Regions from separate parts of the Homo sapiens genome. Here regions 1 and 2 are each linked to region 3. Evidence: promoter capture Hi-C in human tissues and cell types (Jung and others, 2019). All regions are on one chromosome and are shown on one strand. The core of a region is centred on a gene start or on the middle of the fragment in contact, and the rest is flanking DNA. Distances in the headings are between cores, read along the strand shown.

The links. Contacts are between HindIII fragments. The study calls those that stand out against the background at their distance.
Region 1: a fragment that was not itself captured here is called in contact with the fragment with the promoter of QRICH2 in region 3 in 4 of the 25 tissues and cell types used here (IMR-90 fibroblasts, heart left ventricle, mesendoderm cells and 1 more).
Region 2: a contact is called between a fragment that was not itself captured here and the fragment with the promoter of QRICH2 in region 3, in 3 of the 25 tissues and cell types used here (heart left ventricle, hippocampus and pancreas).

What each region holds. Positions count from the first base shown.
Region 1 is chr17:76,250,031-76,253,066 of GRCh38, forward strand. The region is part of intron 5 of LOC105371896 (a long non-coding RNA gene); the gene reads right to left. Among named protein-coding and RNA genes, the nearest start is that of RNF157, 11 kb to the left of the region's middle. RefSeq lists an enhancer at 2,080-2,149. The HindIII fragment of the contact is 5,873 bases long and covers 1-3,036 here.
Region 2 is chr17:76,267,680-76,270,416 of GRCh38, forward strand. UBALD2 (UBA like domain containing 2) reads left to right here. Exons shown (of 3, transcript NM_182565.4): 3 at 2,515-2,737. Among named protein-coding and RNA genes, the nearest start is that of UBALD2, 3.7 kb to the left of the region's middle. RefSeq lists enhancers at 452-681, 2,382-2,571. The HindIII fragment of the contact is 4,243 bases long and covers 1-2,737 here.
Region 3 is chr17:76,307,024-76,310,185 of GRCh38, forward strand. QRICH2 (glutamine rich 2) reads right to left here and starts at 1,253. Exons shown (of 19, transcript NM_001388453.1): 1 at 442-1,253. The coding sequence starts at 975. It overlaps PRPSAP1 (phosphoribosyl pyrophosphate synthetase associated protein 1), which reads right to left. Exons shown (of 10, transcript NM_002766.3): 10 at 2,455-3,162. The HindIII fragment of the contact is 11,814 bases long and covers 1-3,162 here.

The DNA.
Region 1 (3,036 bases), core at 269-2,768, 57 kb before region 3:
TACAAAAAAAAATTAGCCAGGTGTGGTGGCGGGCACCTGTAGTCCCAGCTACTTGGGAGGCTGAGGCAGGAGAATGGTGTGAACCCAGGAGGCAGAGCTTGCAGTGAGCCGAGATTGAGCCACTGCACTCCAGCCTGGGTGACAGTGAGAGACTCCGTCTCAAATAATAATAATAATAATAATTTTAAAGTCAGAGTTTCTGGATTTCCAAGTCAGGATATGTATTTGAGAGTCTGCCCAAGATGAAACCGAGGTCCACGCACTTCCCATACCAGGTGAAGGCAGAGCCCAGGGGTTTCGATTTCCTGAGACATCACTTTTCTGTGTTCATTGAAACTCAAAATGCCAGAAACATGTCTCCCTTATCACGTGTGGTGGCTGCTAAAGGGCCAGAGAAAAAGATAGCCCAGCCCTGCTCCTTCTTAACAAAGTACTGCCAACAAGTCACTGCACTAGAAGAAAGCAAGGCCCCTAATCGGCCCTCTTGCCCCTGCTGTCTGGATTAGCCATCTGTGGACGTGTGTGGTGTGTGTATTTGCGGATGTGTGTATTTGTGGGTCAGAGTTTGTCTGCCATTGTTTTGGGGGGTTTGCTTTTTGTTTTGAGATACGGTCACCAGGCTGGAATACAGTGGCATGAACGTGGCCCACAGCAGCCTCGACCTCCTGTGCTCAGGCGATCCTCCCACCTCAGCCTCCTGAGGAGCTGGGACTAAAGTGCGCCACCACACCCGGCTATTTTTTTTAAGAGATAGGGTCTCACTATGTTGCCCAGGTTGGTCTCGAACTCCTGGGCTCAGGTGATCCTCCCGCCTCAGCCTCCCAAAGTGCTGGAATTATAGGCGTGAGCCACCGTGCACGGCCTTCTGCCATTGTTAACTTCTCACTTAAGTGCCATTTGCTAACTAGAAAGAATGTTCAAGTTCACTGAGTTGGGGCCAGCTCTCCAGGGCTCATAGTTCAGGAATTTTGCCAGCCAGTTGTTAAATTGTTGGTAGCGTAATGGGAGTATTTACAACACAGAAACCATCAAATGCTGCAAATCACAGCTTCCTCCCATTCTCCAGAGCCAGTTTACCAGCATACCCCTGGTCTTAGGTTTCTTCTAATCCCCCAGAAGGGCTGGGTACATTGCTTCCCATATAGAAAGTGCTCACTAAATGAATGACTATTTAGTTGTTGTTGTTGTTGTTGTTTTGAGACGGAGTCTCCCTCTGTAGCCCAGGCTGATGTGCAATGGCGCAATCTTGACTCACTGCAACCTCTGCCTCCCAGGTTCAAGTGATTCTCCTGCCTCAGCCTCCCGAATAGCTGGGATTACAGGTGAATGCCACCATGCCCAGCTAATTTTTGTATTTTTAGTAGAGATAGGGTTTCACCATGCTGGTAAGGCTGGTCTTGAACTCCTGACCTCAGGTGATCCACCTGCCTTGGCCTCCCAAAGTGCTGGGATTATAGGCGTGAACCACCGAGCCCAGCCAAGAATAGTCATTTTTGAGCAATGACTCTGTCCAAGCACTTTGGAATGCGTTGTCACCCGAGCTGGAGTGCAGTGGTGTGATCACAGTTCACTGCAGTCTCAACCTCCTGGGCTCAAGCGATCCTCCCACCTGAGCCTCATTTAATCTTCAAAACAACCCTAAGAGATAAGTATTATTGTTCCCACTTCCCAGATGAGGAAACTGGAACTCAAGTAGGCACAGGGAGCAGGAACTGGCCCCAGGTTCTTCCAGGTTCAAAGTCCTACATTTTACCCATGGATCATCATCTCACCAGCCTCTGTGGGGAAAGCCTGCCTGGGTGCCAGCCCTACTGCCCACCAAGCTAGCGGAGTGATTCTCCCAGGGTGGTGCCAGTGACAAAGGGCAATGCATGGGGACGTCTCCATCATTGTCACACCACCACCTCCACCTTCACTGTGCCTCTCTCTAGGTTTAATCTTTCTTCCTTTTCCTCCTCACTTCCCTCTGTATTATCAATCTCCTTCCTGTATCGGGACTATTTCCTCAACAGGCCCGGGGAAGCTCTTGTCTATGGAAGTCCTCTTTGGCCTTAAGCTTCCCTCTAAGAGCTCCAGCAGATGAGTAACCTGTCCTCCTGCAAACACTGCCATGAAGTGCGTAGGCAGCTGCCTGCCTTCAGGGCTGGATGGACACCCTGTTTCCTTGCTCAATCCCTTCTGATGACTGGACTCTGTACACAGTGTGGTCAGTGGGTCAGCTCTGATCTGGAAGCTCCCAAAGGCAGGACACAAGATTTTCTCTGACTGTTCCCAGGCCCCAGGGCGTGTTGGGCACGGGAGCGTGTGGCACGGATGTTGTTCGTGATGAGGCATATTCTAGTGGTTTCCCAATTCGGTTGTGTACAACCCAGTGCTCTAGTGTTCAGTAAATACTTCCTTCCTCTTTAGGCAGAACACTGGCTCTGTGTTTTATTAACAGCACCTCATGCCTGGCCCAAAGAATGATTTGTGTGGCTTGGGCTGTTGGGGTCAGAAATGGCATTCATTCATCATTCACTCTGGAGGTGCTGTGTTTCTGAAGGAGAAGGGGACCTATCCTGGCAAACAAATCAGGGGCTTTATGGTAAACAAACTCCTCTCTTCCCAGCACTTGTTTCTTGCTCTCTGTTTTTGATTTTCTCTCTCTTTCACTTTTTTTTTTTTTTCACTATACCCGGGCTTCCTGAGTTCCTGACAATTTCTAAAGCCTCAAGCATGATCTCATCAGAAACTCTGGCTTCTTTTAACATTTCTTTCCCTTCTGCTGAGTCCTAGTCCATTTAAATTTCCTCTGTGACTCTGGGAATTTTTTTTCCTTGAGACACAGTCTCGCTCTTGTTGCCCAGGCTGGAAGTGCAATGGGCTGATCTCAGCTCACTGCAATCTCTGCCTCCCAAGTTAAAGCGATTCTCCTGCCTCAGTCTCCCAAGTAGCTGGGACTACAGGCATGCACCACCATGCCCGGCTGATTTTGTATTTTTAACAGAGACGGGGTTTCACCATATTGGTCAGACTGACCTCAAACTCCTGACCTCA
Region 2 (2,737 bases), core at 122-2,621, 39 kb before region 3:
TTTGAGACAGAGTTTCACTCTTATTGCCTAGGCGGAGTGCAATGGTGTGATCTCGGCTCACCGCAACCTTCACCTCCTGGGTTCAAACGATTCTCCTGCCTCATGGGATTACAGGCACGTGCCACCTGTAATCCCACACCTGGCTAATTTTGTATTTTTAGTAGAGACGGGGTTTCTCCATGTTGATCAGGCTGGTCTCGAACTCCCAACCTCAGGTGGTCCGCCTGCCTCGGCCTCCCAAAGTTCAGGGATTACAGGCGTGAGCCACTGCACCCGGCCTGGCAATTTATTTTGGACAAAGTAAGTCAAAGGAAAAAGATCAAAAAACGAAACACTAGAGACCAGTAACAGCAAAATGGCAAAACCAGAAGTCATGAGTAACTGATAAATGGTTGTCCCGTACATTACTGTAGATTCCCATAGTTGGAAGCTTCCCAGTTGATAAGGAGGGCTTCCCAGTTGGAAGTGGAGAAAGGCACTACAGACTTGAAGTGGGAGGACAAAGGTACAGGGGACAATGGGTTTTCTTGAGAACTGGCCGAGAGGGCATATCTGGTTCAAAACCCTCATTTTACAAAAGCAGAGAGAAGCTCCAGAGAGGTTCAGGAACTTGCCCAAGCTTACACAGGCAGGCCACCACAGGCCTGCCAGCCATCATCCCTGCTGTTCTCTGGCGGCTGTTTGAGGAGACAGGCCTCGCTGGCTGGCGGGGAACTGGGGAAGTCGGTCACGATGCTGTGATGCAATTGGCCTCCACCCCCACCCTTCATTCATTGTTTCCTGCTGCCGAGAAGTCATCCCCAGAGGGTGGGGGGGGGGCAGGGAGTAGTGGAGGGAGGAGGGGAAAGGTCTGGGTGGGGCCAGGCCTCTGCATTGGGTCCTTTGGCCTCCCCCTGAGGACCCCTAGAAAGGCAAGGGTCAGAGCTCCCTTGGTGCCCTGGGTGCTGACATGGTGTGGGGCTCAATGGACAGGGTGTGCTAGTGTCCCCATTCCATGTATGTTACACACCCCCTACACAACCTCCGGTTTCTAGCTGTGAAAGCTCCCTCTGTTTTTTTTTTTTTTTTTTTTGAGACGGAGTTTTGCTCTGCCACCTAGGCTGGAGTGCAGTGACGTGATCTCAGCTCACTACAACCTCCACCTCCCGGGTTCAAGTGATTCTCCGGCCTCAACCTCCCAAGTAGCTGGGATTATAGACGCCCATCACCACACCCAGCTAATTTTTGTATTTTTTAATAGAGACAGGGTTTCACCATGTTGGTCAGGCTGGTCTCGAACTCCTAACCTCAGGTGATCCACCCGCCTCGGCCTCCCAAAGTGCTGGGATTACAGACGTGAGCCACTGCGCCCTGCCAAAGCTCCCTCTTTCAAGGTGAAGAGCCCTCAAGTCGTTCCCCCAACTCCTGCGCCTGGGGGAGGGGCCAGTGTTGCTAAAATTAGGAGAAATTCAAAGAAGGACTCCTGTGGCTTCCTGGGAAAGGGAGAAAGCAGCTTTGAGGTCCCAGCCAGTTTTGTGTGGTCTTGTTCTCTGTGTTGCCTCTTGCCCATGCTGCTGACGAGGTGCTCCTGGATGGCACTCCAGCCCCTGCCCCCAGGGTAGTGACAGAAGACAGCAGATGGGGGACTGTAGCTACCCCCAGGAAGAGGACTGAGGGGCTGGACAGACTGAGAAACTGCCAGCCTGCAGGCAAGGGCAGGCCAGCTGTGTTTGTGGCCTGAGGCTACAGACACAGGACATTGAAATCCCTGGTTTGTGTCCTCAAGGGGCCCAGATATAAAGGGGCTCTTGACTCTGTGCAGCGTGGCCCAGTAGATGTTAAGAGCTTGGGCCTGCAGACTTGGGAGCTGGGGAGGTCCGTCTTCTCAACTTGCCCTCTGCTGTGGGTGCATTTTCGGGCAAGTGACTTGACTTCTGGGCCTCAGTTTCCTCATTTGTCATAAAGAGAGGATAATTGAAGCCACTAAGTGTCATTGTTAAGGGAGGCAAAGCCTTCAAGGCCTGGTGGCTGTCACCCTTAGTGTGGTGTGAACCCATCCACCAAGGTGGCTTAACTTTTCCAGGGTTGGCACAGGAGGGAGAGCCTCCCCGCTGGCCGCTCTCCCTTGCCTAGCAGCCTGGGAGCATCTGAGGGTGGCTGGTGGGGCAGTCAGCTGGTCTCCCTGCCCAGGGAAGGTGCGGAACAGTGGTGTCCTGGGCTGCCCCCTTGCCCTTTCACTTTAATCTGACACCTTAGCTCCTGGGTGCAATTAACCATTTACTTTGAATGCTCCTCGGGGTGTCATTTCCAGGCCTCATGAAACCCCGTTGGTTTTGATAAGGTTCTTGGGTTTTGTCCTTGTTTTCTGTTTGTATTGCCTCGGGGAGAGGGCACTTTTGTCCTGTGGAAGCTGCTTGTGCGAAAATGAATGAAGCTGAAAAATGGGAGTAAAGGAGCGGCTGGCCTGGGTAAGCCCCATCCAGTGGCTCGGGGACCCCCGAGGCAGCCTCCCCACACCCGTGTTCTCTCCCGCAGATGTGCACTCCCAGCAACACCCCTGCCACGCCGCCCAACTTCCCCGATGCGCTGGCCATGTTCTCCAAGCTCCGCGCCTCCGAGGGCCTGCAGAGCAGCAACAGCCCCATGACAGCCGCAGCCTGCTCCCCACCTGCAAACTTCAGCCCCTTCTGGGCCTCGTCCCCGCCCAGCCACCAGGCGCCCTGGATCCCGCCCTCCTCCCCCACCACCTTCCACCACC
Region 3 (3,162 bases), core at 3-2,502:
TCCTTATTCATTTTAAAAAGGGAATTCACTCTAAGAATCTTCTGAGAAGTTGCCGGCCCCACTCTGAGCCAGCTCTGGGTCCTTGGATGTCTGATAAGTGGTGGGCGAACCTCTCCCGTAAACAGGGGCTAGGAAGGAGGGGGTGGGATGGGGCCACTACACTTAGGAGGTGGGGTCCCCAGGCCCCTCCAGCTCGGGGAGGCCCTAGGCCTTTTGGTGGCGTTCTTTTAGGATTTTCACGTCTTGCAGCCCCGTGGACTGCAAGGTAGAGCATGGGCCACTCTATTTAGCCAGTCGCACTGAGGTCTGGCACCTCCTCGGTCCCCATCCCCTCCGTCCCCACCACCGCTCACCCCTCCAGGGTGGTGGGGACTCGGCTAGGCCTGGAGGGCGGCCTGGAGGAGGCAGACGGCCTGCGCGTGCCTCCGTGTGCGTGCTCACCCTGGCAAAGCTGAGCTCCTCGGCGGCGTCCTTCATGATACTCCCAGTCCGCACCCTATCGAACGCCCGCACGCCCACCTCCTGCTCCTCCGGCCACTCTAGCGCGGCCAGGTCAAGCCCGCTGGCCTGGGAGAAGTGCTGCACGTGCGTGGCGATGCCCTGCACCTGGCCGTCCACACGCTTGAGCTGCTTGCTCAGGTCCTCCACCTGGCCGCCCAGGTCCTTCACTTGGCTCTCCAGCGCTGACGAAGGCGCCTGGCCCACGCCCCTGCGCTTCTCCCGGGGCGCCCCCTTGGGCACCTCCTTGGGCGCGGGCAGGTGCGGGATGCTGAACGAGCTCCGGACGGACTGCAGCGAGCGGCTGGGCTCGGGCGACGAGGGCTGGAAGTCGATCCGGGTATTTTGGAGGTCGAGGTTCTTGAGCATGGCCACGATGAGCGTGTGCAGGGCCGTGAAGTTGACGGCGCCCACCTCTGGCGTGCCGATGGAGAGGTCCGCCAGCTCCCGGAGGGAGACCGTGGTCGCGGGCGGCATCGTGGCTGTCAGGAGCTGTGCGCCGCCGCGGGGCGCCGGCCAACCACTTCCCGCTCACTGCACGCCGCGCCTTGGGGCCTTTCGGGGGCCCTGCGAGGTCCTCGGGGCGCCCCTGCCCCGGGTCCGGCCGAGTCACTGGACAGAGCTCCTGCCTCCAGGGAATCTGCGCCTCCGCTCCCCGGCGGGGTCCGCGATGGCCACCCCTCCGCTGTCTGTCGCTGGCCTCGGGTCCCCGAGCTGGAGCCCTGGACTCCCAGTCCCCGCGCCGGCGGACGTTTGAAACGTGGGGGCCCCCGCGTGCCCTGAAGATTCCACGTAACAACACGCCTCCCTGCGAGCCACGGGGGCGGGGGGAAGTAAAGGCCACCACAAGGATCACAAGGGGAGCCTTGGCAACGGGCTGAGGAGGCCTCCTAAGATCCAGCTAGACTCCATCCATCCCCTTAACCTAGAAAGGCCAGGATTCACTCACTCTTGGCGGGGCCACATAAGGAAAGACTTGAGGGTTTCCTGGCAACCATGCTTTGTGTCATCAGCTGCGTCCATTCCAGAGTGGTGGCCCCATGTCTATGGCCCCATGTCTAAGGGATGCAGTCCTGGGGCCCTGGTCCCCTCAGACAGTCCACATATTTTGTTCAATCAAAGGTGAAGCAACTTGGAAAAGACAACCCACTCACTATTCAGGCAGTTCCAATTAGCCACTAGATGACTAACTGGTGGCTAATTGTCCCTTTTCTGTGCTGCCATAATTTTTTTTTTACTTTTGAGAGGGAGTCTTGCTCTGTCGCCCAGGCTGTAGTGCAATGGCACGATCTCGGCTCACTGCAACCTCTGCCTCCCGGGTTGACATGATTCTCCTGCCTCAGCCTCCCGAGTAGCTGGGATTACAGATGCGTGGTACCATGCCCGGCTAATTTTTTGTATTTTTAGCAGAGACGGGGTTTCACTATGTTGGCCAGGCTGGTCTTGAACTCCCGACCTCAAGTGATCGACCCACCTCGGCCTCCCAAAGTGCTGGGATTACAGGTGTAAGCCACCGCGCCCAGCCTGCCATAAATTAATTGATCTCAAAAAAACGGCCAGGCTTGGTGGCTCACACCTGTAATCCCAGCACTTTGGGAGGCCGAGGCGGGTGGATCACCTGAGGTAAGGGGTTCAAGGCCAGCCTAGCCAACATAGTGAAACCCCTCTGCTAAAAATACAAAAAATTAGCCGGGCATGGTACCGCGCATCTGTAATCCCAGCTACTCGGGAGGCTGAGGCAGGAGAATCGCGTCAACCCGGGAGGCAGAGGTTGCAGTGAGCCAAGATCGCACCACTGCACCCCAGCCTGGGCGACAGTGCAAGACTCTGTCTCAAAAAAAAAAAAAAAGAAAAGAAAAGAAACCACTCACCTGGTCAAGCGCCTGTGCTTGAGCTCATTACAAAGCAGGATTAAACAGCACGAGACAAATCTGGTGTTAACAATTGAGACATGACTTCCCCATACAAGATTCTTCCCAAAAACGTATAAATAAAACTTCCTAACAGAAGCACAGCAAGGCTACTTAAAGAGAACCTATGAATGTGTGCCATGCATGGCCAGCCTCCTCCGTGAGCTCTGCATCTGCAGATTTAACCAACCACGACTGAACACGTACAGATTCCTGTCATGATTCTCTAAATAATACAGCATGACCACCATCTACACAGGATATTGCAGTAGGTATTACAAGTCATCCAGGATGTGCATAGCTTATATGCAGATACTACACCATTTTCTATCAGGGACTTGCACATCCATGGGCAGGAGGTTGAGTCCTGGAACCAATCACCCATGGATTGTAAGGAATAACTGTACTATTTTAACTACTGTTCAAGTTCAGATTTTTCACTTCAGCCTGAGAGGTACTGTTTATTTAATTGAAGGATTTTCGATCATCATTATATTCCAATAACTTGGGACACAGTAGGCCTTTAAGGGGTTATCAAAATAACTAGTTCTTTGCAGTCTTTTTTTTTTTTTGAGATGGAATCTTGCTCTGTCACTTGGGCTGGAGTGCAGTGGCACAATCTCAGCTCACTGCAATCTCTGCCTCTTGGGTTCAACCAATTAATTCTCCTGCCTCAGCCTCCCGAGTAGCTGGGATTACAGGCGTGCACCCCCTCCCCCAACACCCGGCTAATTTTTGTATTTTTAGTAGGGAC